3 separate regions of the Homo sapiens genome follow, and all the other regions are linked to region 1. Evidence: promoter capture Hi-C in 16 types of primary human blood cells and fetal thymus (Javierre and others, 2016). All regions are on one chromosome and are shown on one strand. Each heading gives the region's core, a stretch centred on a gene start or on the middle of the fragment in contact. The rest is flanking DNA. Distances are from core to core; before and after follow the strand shown. Region 1 holds the start of RASAL3 (RAS protein activator like 3). Region 2 holds the start of ILVBL-AS1 (ILVBL antisense RNA 1). Region 3 has its middle 7.4 kb from the start of SYDE1.

Region 1 (2,700 bases), core at 4-2,503:
CCATGTTGGCCAGGCTGGTCTCGAACTCCTGAGCTCAGGTGATCCACCCACCTTGGCCTCCCAAAGTGCTGGGATTACAGGTGTGAGCCATCATGCCTGGCCCATCTGTCATTTTCTTGTTGATGGATTTCCTGTCAATTCCACTACACTGTGAGCTCCATGGGGCAGGGAGGGTCATCTGTCTCTTTCACTAGTGTGTCCTCAGTGCCTAAATCAGGGCCTGGCACATACAATAGAAGCTCAACAAACCTCTGCTTGAATAAATGAATGAATATGAGCAAATAAAATTATATACTCTCCAAAATGGAGATCATTATTCTCACTGAACTGATGGAGAGGCTGAGGCTTAAGGGCTCAGAACAAAGACACGGAAGCTAGAAGGTAGGAGAGTAGGAGGCAGGCTGAAGATGGATATCCAGGTAGGAAAGGATGGGCCTGAGCCATTGAAGGAGAGACCCGTTGGGGCCAAGAGCCGTTTAGCCTCTGGACAATACTATCACGGGTTTACATTCACTGTTCCTTCCTCAGATGGACCCTCTGCCCACAGGACCCCGGCAACTCCTCCTACCCTCTTTAGGGGGAAAGAGGGAACAGGGTAGCTGGGCCCCAGCGGCTTCCTGCTGGGCTTTTGCACTCCCCACAACTTCCTGTGTCTGTATGGTTGATGCTCCGGAGGCAGACAAAACCCAAGCATCCGGCTTCCCAGCCCGGCCCAAGCTCAGGGTGGGGGAACCATGTACCTGGGGCCTCCTGCTCCGGCTCCGGGTCTGGCTCCGGCGGTGGGTTCTTATGCCTCCCCCAGAGGGCCTTGGAGAGTCGAAGGCGACTGGTCCGTGACTCCTTGGGAGGCGCAGATAGGACCCGACGGAATATCGAGCGAGGGGCTGGCTGGGTGCTGACCATGGGCTCCTGGTGGCTCAGGGCCCTGCCCCAGCCAGCAAAGCGGCCCCAGCGGAACCCTCCAGCCGCCTTCTCCCCACCGCCCCCTGTGTGCCAGCGGTAGGAAGTCAGCGGAGAGGTGGCTGTGGGCTGGGTTTGGGAGGTCCGGCTTGGCGACGGTGGGTCCATGGTTGGGGGGGGGGGTCTCCTGGGGGACGAGAGAGTGACAGTAGTGCCCAGTGTCTGTCCACATACTGCCCTCATCTCGGCCCCCTCCCCACCCTCAGCTCTGCCTCCAGGAATCCCCCTGCCCCCACCTCCACTCCCTCCCTTACCTTGGTTTCCTGACCAGCCCCAGAATCAGCAGCCGTCTGCACCCCGCCTGGCTTCCTCCCTCGGAACCCAACTCCACGTGACCCTCTCTGTCCCACCCCACCCCACAGCCAGGCTGGGAGGGCACAGTGCGGGCAGGTTGCTGGAGGTTCGAGGGAGGAGAAGAGAGGAGGTGGGTTACCAGGCTTCTAGCAAGAAGGACCCAGACTGCCTCCCTGACGGGGAGGCAGCACTTGCCCCTCTCTCTGAGCCTCCGTTGCCTTCTCTGCAAAATGAGTACAGGCTGAACAAATGCTGGCGAGAATACAAAGCACCTAGAACTCTAATCCACAGTTGGCCGGAGTGTAGACCCATTCACTCATGTTGGGAAACGGTTTGGCAGGATCTACTAACACTACTAGCTGGATCTTCTCTGACTCAGCAATTCCATTGCTAGGTAGACGTCCAATAGATATGCCCCCCCAGCACAATGCATAATAGCCCCACATTGGAAGCAGCCTAAGTACCCATTAGTGGGAGAAGGAATAAATTGTGATCTCTTCGCACAGCAGAATATCATACAGCAGTGAGAACAAACTAAAGAATGATTTAACTTGGGTGAATCACAAACAATGTTGAGCCAAAACCAAAACCAAAGCCATAAAATGCCAGTAATCTGAGCTATTCAGGAGGCTGAGGGAGGAGGATCGCTTGAGGCCAGGAGTTCGAGGCTGCAGTGAGCTGTGATCATGCCTGTGAATAGGCAGTGCACTCCAGTCTGGGTGACATAGGGAGACCTCATATCTAACTTTTTTTTTTCTTTTTCCCCTCCCTGCCCTCGGGAGACCCCATCTCTAAAAAGCAATAATAAATAAATTTAAAAACCCCAAAACAATGAAGAGTATACACTTTGTGATTCCATTTACATAAAGTCCTAAAGCAGGCAAAACCATGTCTAACAAGCAGGGTATCAGTTTCTTTTGGAGGCACTGGTGGCTGGGAAGAGGGTACAAGGGGGGCTTCTGGAAGATGGCAAGATTTATTATTACTCTTATTATTATTAATTGATTTATTTATCGAGAAGGAGTTTCGCTCTGTCTCCCAGGCTGGTGTGCAGTGGCACGATCTTGGCTCACTGCAATCTCTGCCTCCCGGATTCAAGTGATTCTCCCTACTCAGCCTCCTGAGTAGCTGGGACTACAGGTATTCACCACCATGCCTGCCTAATTTTTTTGTATTTTTAGTAGAGACGGGGTTTCACCATGTTGGTCAGGCTGGTCTTGAACTCCTGACCTGAAATGATCTGCCCGCCTTGGCCTCCCAAAGTGCTGGTATTATAGGCGTAAGCCACCGTGCCCGGCCCTTATTATTATTATTATTTATAAATGAGGTCTATAAAAATAATATAGATCTCATAAAATAAAAATATAATATTTATATTACATAGTAATATAAATAATATTACATTATACATAATATGAATATTATTATTTTTTGTAGATGAGGTCT
Region 2 (2,700 bases), core at 201-2,700, 340 kb before region 1:
TTGCACATGCTGTTCCTTCTACCTGGAATGCTCTCCCCCCAGCTGTCTCCTCCCAGTCCACATGTGAATCAAAGGAGGATGGGTGTGGGCTGGAAGCTGCAGGAGAGAACGGGGGATAAAGGAGGGAATGGCAGGGGTGGGGCTATTCACCAGGAGACCACTCGGCCCACGAGGCCCTTGGGTGGCTTGGCTGGCACCATCTCCTTCTGGACCATGAAGTAGGGGTACAGCACGTCAACGGGCAGCTCCACAAACACCGGACCTGCAGGGACAGGGAGGACGCTGAGTCCATAACATGTCCCCAGCCCCTCGGCCCCAGCACTGCTCAGCATCACCATCCTCCACCTACCTGGGGTGCCCGACTGGGCGGCAGCCATCGCGGCCCTCAGGGTGGGCACAATGTCCCGCACCCTCCGCACAGACACACAAAACTTACAGAGTGGCCGGAAAAGGGACAGCTGATCAACAGCCTGGAGCGCACCCCGGTTCTGGCAAAGACAGAGGTGTGGCAGGGTTATCGCATGAGCCCTTCAAGCCCCCCTAGGCCCCCACTGGCCCCCAAGGACTGGGTACCTGCAGCAGAGTGCTGGCAGCCCCACCCAGAAGCAGGATTGGGGACTGAGCCATCTGAGCATTCTTCACCGCAGTCACCGTGTTGGTGAGGCCAGGGCCTGCTGTCACTGCCGCCACGCCCACCGTCCCTGGAACACAGAGCCCATCACAGCCATGCCCACTCTCTTGGCCATTCTTCCACCTCTGAAAAACCCCTACCCTCACAGACACTCTAGCCCACAGTCCAACCAGTCCCCAGCCCTCTCTGCAATGCCCTCACCGGACAGGCGGGCCATAGCATCAGCAGCAAAGACGGCCGTGACCTCATGGCGTGTGTCCACCACACGGATGCCCAGTTTCTCACAGGCCACCAGCAGCGGGGAAATGTGCCCACCGACCAGCGTGAAGATGAACCGCACACCATGGGCCCTCAGCACAGCGGCCACGTTCTCTCCGCCATGCCGGACGCTTGCCTTGTCCACCTGGGCCCAAGGACAGGTGGAGCAATAAAGTTAAAGGCCAGGGCAGAGGGCAGCTGGGAAAGGGGGCAATCCCCCTGCCCCAGGTAAGGGGGCAGGAGCAGGGTGAGAGGTCAAGAGAAGCTTGGTCTTGGTTAGGCATATATTATACTACATGCCAGGCTCAAACCAAGGCATAACATCTTATCAGATCCTCTTGTCATTACATCCCTCTTACAGCTGAGGACATCAAGGCTTGCCCAAGTAAGACTGAAAGTTCAATAGAACCCACGCTCTTAAGTGCCCCACTGTTACACTGCCTGTCTCCAGGATGGCAGGGCAATCAGGGAGAGAGGAGAGGGTTATATAACCCAGGGGGTTTGGCCAGGGGCACAACGCACGCAGAGCAGATGGCAGGGAGCCATCTGCTGTGACTCCTCCCTGCCCTCCAGTATCCTTGCAGAGCCTGGCAGCTGGGCTCCTGATCCCAGCCTCCCTGATGCCCTCCTGATGGACGCTAAACAGGCCCAGGGCTTAGTTGACAGGCTGCCAGCCACCATGTGCCTGGCACGGGAGTGAGCTGCTGGCACAGACTGTGCCGAGGCCTCCCAACTCCAGCTGCCTCACAGCCCTACACATCCAAGGCTTGCTTTAAATCTCCTAAGTCCTGAAGGTCAGTGGCATCACTCCTGGCTAGCAGAGGAAGCAGTAGAGAAGGGTTTGGGGAGGGAGAGGTCAAGCTTGGTCCCTGCTAGGAGAGAAAGGGTTGAGGAAGGGGTCTGGAGAAGGGGTAAATTTCAAACAGAGGTGCAAGGAGTTTAGGGGGACACCTGTGGGGTCAGCTCTCTCCAAACATGTCACCTAGGGCAAACCACCACACAATCTCTCTGAGCCTCAGCTTCCTCTTGCAGAAAATGAAGACAGAAAGAACAGCACCTACTTTCAAGGAAAAGGTAAGGGGTAGGTAAGAAAGTCTACAGTACTGAGCTCAGCAGAGGGCAACTGTTATGAAACTGTCACTGCCACCCCCTCGCTGGAGCCTGCCCTCTGCCCCATTTATCCCATCCAGGTTAGGGAGCACAGAGTGCTGTCCATCTGTTCTGTGAAAAGAGTCACTGGGGAAGGAGGTAGGTGGGGTGCGAGTGCCCCGGCAGCGGCAGCTTCCGTGTTCTCTCTTACCAGTGGCAAAGTCCAGGCCTCCATACACAGCGTGGCAATGGAGACAGGGCCCTGGACAGAACCTCTTACCAGTCCCTCTGGACTAGTCGGGGCTCGCTTTCCCACCCTGCACAATGAGTGAGCTGGAAGCAGCACCACGAGGCCCCTCCCTCTTTGACTGCCCCCAGCCCACCTCCCATTCTGTGCCCCGCACCTTGTGCAGCAGCTGATAGAAGAGCCCCAGGCGGTGAGCGGCGCCCAGCAAGGCGGCCACCAGCGTCCCGCAGGCCAGGAGCAGGAAGGAGGGGAATAAGCTCCCAGCGGGGGCGGCGGCCGCGGGGGTCTCCATGAGGTGGTACCTAAGAGAGAAAGGGCACTTCCCAGACTTGGGCGCGACAGGGAACCTCTCCGGAAGAAATCGCGCCCCTTCTCGCAGCAGGATCCAGGGCCACGACCCTTGCCGCCAGTTTCTGTGCGGCCACGCCCCCAACCCTGCCAGACCACGCCCTTTGTGCGCCTAGGCTCGGGGTGA
Region 3 (2,700 bases), core at 187-2,686, 360 kb before region 1:
CATTTTAACGTAATTACCTCTGTCTCTAGCTCCGGGGTATTTCTCCGCCAACTCACCATGACTGCCACAGAAGTGCTGAGCTCTGCCCAAACCTGACCGGTCCCTCCACCTGCATTTTGTCTTTCAACGAATGGGTCTGTATGTGCCTGCGGGTGGTTAACCCACCAGGTACCAAAAGCACAGCGTATCAGGCCTGCAGCCAACGAGAAAGAAAATTGGAGGAAGAAAAATACATACATGTGGGGCTGGGTGTGGCGGCTCATGCCTGTAATCCCAGCACTTTGGGAGGCCAAGGTCGGGGGATCACTTGAGGTCAGGAGTTCAAGACCAGCCTGGCCAATATAGTGAAACCCTGTCTCTACTACAAATACAAAAATTAGCTGGGCGTGGTGGCACAGGCCTGTAAGATCGCACCACTGCACTCCAGACTGGGCGACAGAGAGAGACCCTGAAAAAAAAAATAGAAAAAGAAAAGAAAGGGAAGGGAAAGGGAAGGGAAGGGAAGGGAAGGGAAGGGAAAGGGAAAGGGAAAGGGAAAGGGGAAGGGGAAGGGGAAAGGGAAAGGGAAGGAAAGGAAGGGAAGAAAGAAAGAAGGAAAGAAAGAAGAAAGAAAGAAGGAAAGAAAGAAAGAGAAAGAAAGAAAGGGGAAGGAAGGAAGTAGAGAGAGAGAAAGAAAGAAGGAAGGAAGGAGAGAAAGAAAGAAAGAAAAGGAAGGAAGGAAGGAGAGAGAAAGAAAGAAGAAAGGAAGGAGAGGGAGAAAGAAAGAAAGAAAGAAGGAAGGAAGGAGAAAGAAAGAAAGGAAGGAAGGAAGGAAGAAAGAAAATACATACATGGCCAGGAGCAGTGGCTCACACCTGTAATCCCAGCACTTTGGGAGACCAAAGAGGAAGAGAAGACTCTATCTCCAAATACAGTCACATTCTAAGGGACCGGGAGTTAAGACTTCAACATAGGAATTTGGCAAGGGACTGAAGGGGACATAATTTGGCCCATGGGTGTCCAATCTTTTCATTTCCCTGGACCACATTGGAAGAAGAATTGTCTTGGGCCACACATAAAATACACTAACACTAACAGATAGCTGATGAGCTAAAAATCGCAAAAAAAAAATCTCATAGTGTTTTAAGAAAGTTTACGAATTTGTGTTGGGTCACATTCAAAGCCTTCCTGGGCCACATGCAGCCTGTGGGTGGCGGGTTAAACAAGCTTGATTTAGCCCATAACAGCCACATAGTATGGCTGACCATTTGTGTGACTGACCTTAGCTACTCAGCCTCAAGCCCCTCGAGAGGTCAAACTGACACAGTGAGGCCCAAGGCCTCCACCATAAAACACGTTTTTGGCATAAACTCTCTGGTGTGACCTCCAGGTATACAAAGAGACTCTCATCACACAGGATACTCCACCAGCTTGAAGGCAACTCTTCAGGAGCCAGACAAGGGCTAGACTTTACTTTGGAATGTGCAGGAGAGCCCAGAAGCATGGGAGGAAGGAGGCAGGAGCTAAGCCTGATGTGGGATCTCTGTCAAAGCCCTGCCCACCCAGCCACCTGTCCTCACCTGATCAGCCACCTCTCTGCAGGCTGCTCCTGCTTCCTCTGGTACACCCAGCCTGTAGAGTCTAGGGGGTCCACACCAGCACACCAGGTCTGGGAGCTGGACATCAGATAAGCTTTGTTTAAGAGACAGGGCCTCAGCTGGGCACGGTGGCTCACACCTGTAATCCCAGCACTTTGGGAGGCCAAGGAGGGCAGATAACTTAAGGTCAGGAGTTCTACTAAAAAATACAAAATCTAGCCAGGCATGGTGGTGGGCGCCTGTAATCTCAGCTACTCAGGAGGCTGAGGCAGGAGAATCGCTTGAATCTGGGAGGCGGAGGTTTCAGTGAGCCGAGATTGCGCCACTGCACTTCAGCCTGGGCAACAAGAGTGAAAACCCTGTCTCAAGAAAAAAAAAAAAAGAGAGAGAGAGACGGGGAGAGACAGGGTCTCGCTCTGTTGCCCAGGCTAGAGGCAGTGGTGCAGTCATAGCTCATTGAAGCCTCAAACTCCTGGGCTCAAGTGATCCTCCTGCCTCAGTCTCCAGAATAGCTGAGACTACAGGTGTGAACCACCATGTCCAGCTTGGAGAGCTCTTGGCATGGCTGCAGTGGCCAGTTGCTGAGTCTATCCCTGAGGCTGTGCAGGGGCCTAGCCAGCAGGAAAGCTCCACAGCCTTGCAGCTGATAAACAGAGACCACTCTGGAGGTGGCATGGAGCAACTATGGACCCCTCCTGCACCTCAGTTTCAGCTCTATAGCTGTCTGGCCAGATTTTTCCAAGGGTCAATGGGAGGCTCTGGTCAAGCAATGCTGTACCACTGACTGTCACCCAGGTGAGACTGTGCCCTGCCTCAGGAAGCTGCTTTATGCTAACAGAATTCATAACCATTTCATTATATACAATCATCCCCTCTCCCTCCAGCTCCTGAATGCTACTGTGATGGATATCTCTGGGCAGCCACCCCTTTGCTGGTTCCTCTGAGGTCTGACTTCCAGCCAGGGAGGCCTAGGCAGGCTGAGGTATTCACCTTCTTCTCCTGGAAGATGCCAGATAGACGCAAGCCTCAGGTGTGGAAACAAATGGGAATGACCACAGCGGGTGGAGGAAGCTTGGGTCCTGCTCCCCAAAACCTTCTCTATCTCCCATCCCCCAGGAACTGA

What was found. The method cuts DNA at HindIII sites, captures the fragments that hold promoters and counts their contacts. A CHiCAGO score of 5 or more calls a contact.
Region 2: a contact is called between a fragment that was not itself captured here and the fragment with the promoter of RASAL3 in region 1, in 1 of 17 cell types (naive CD4 T cells). The highest score is 5.5, in naive CD4 T cells.
Region 3: a fragment that was not itself captured here is called in contact with the fragment with the promoter of RASAL3 in region 1 in 2 of 17 cell types (naive CD4 T cells and naive CD8 T cells); the score reaches 6.6 in naive CD4 T cells.

The regions. Positions count from the first base shown.
Region 1 is chr19:15,463,291-15,465,990 of GRCh38, forward strand. RASAL3 (RAS protein activator like 3) reads right to left here and starts at 1,254. Exons shown (of 18, transcript NM_022904.3): 1 at 1,215-1,254; 2 at 741-1,087. The coding sequence starts at 1,068. RefSeq lists enhancers at 478-617, 718-847, 1,488-1,597. The HindIII fragment of the contact is 11,932 bases long and covers 1-2,700 here.
Region 2 is chr19:15,122,543-15,125,242 of GRCh38, forward strand. It overlaps HACL2 (2-hydroxyacyl-CoA lyase 2), which reads right to left. Exons shown (of 16, transcript NM_006844.5): 2 at 2,383-2,527; 3 at 833-1,034; 4 at 574-701; 5 at 350-488; 6 at 151-262. The coding sequence starts at 2,517. ILVBL-AS1 (ILVBL antisense RNA 1) reads left to right here and starts at 1,618. Exons shown (of 3, transcript NR_186314.1): 1 at 1,618-1,683; 2 at 1,922-1,963. RefSeq lists an enhancer at 1,984-2,700 and a silencer at 2,698-2,700. The HindIII fragment of the contact is 596 bases long and covers 1,153-1,748 here.
Region 3 is chr19:15,098,664-15,101,363 of GRCh38, forward strand. No RefSeq gene overlaps it. Among named protein-coding and RNA genes, the nearest start is that of SYDE1, 7.4 kb to the right of the region's middle. The HindIII fragment of the contact is 465 bases long and covers 1,205-1,669 here.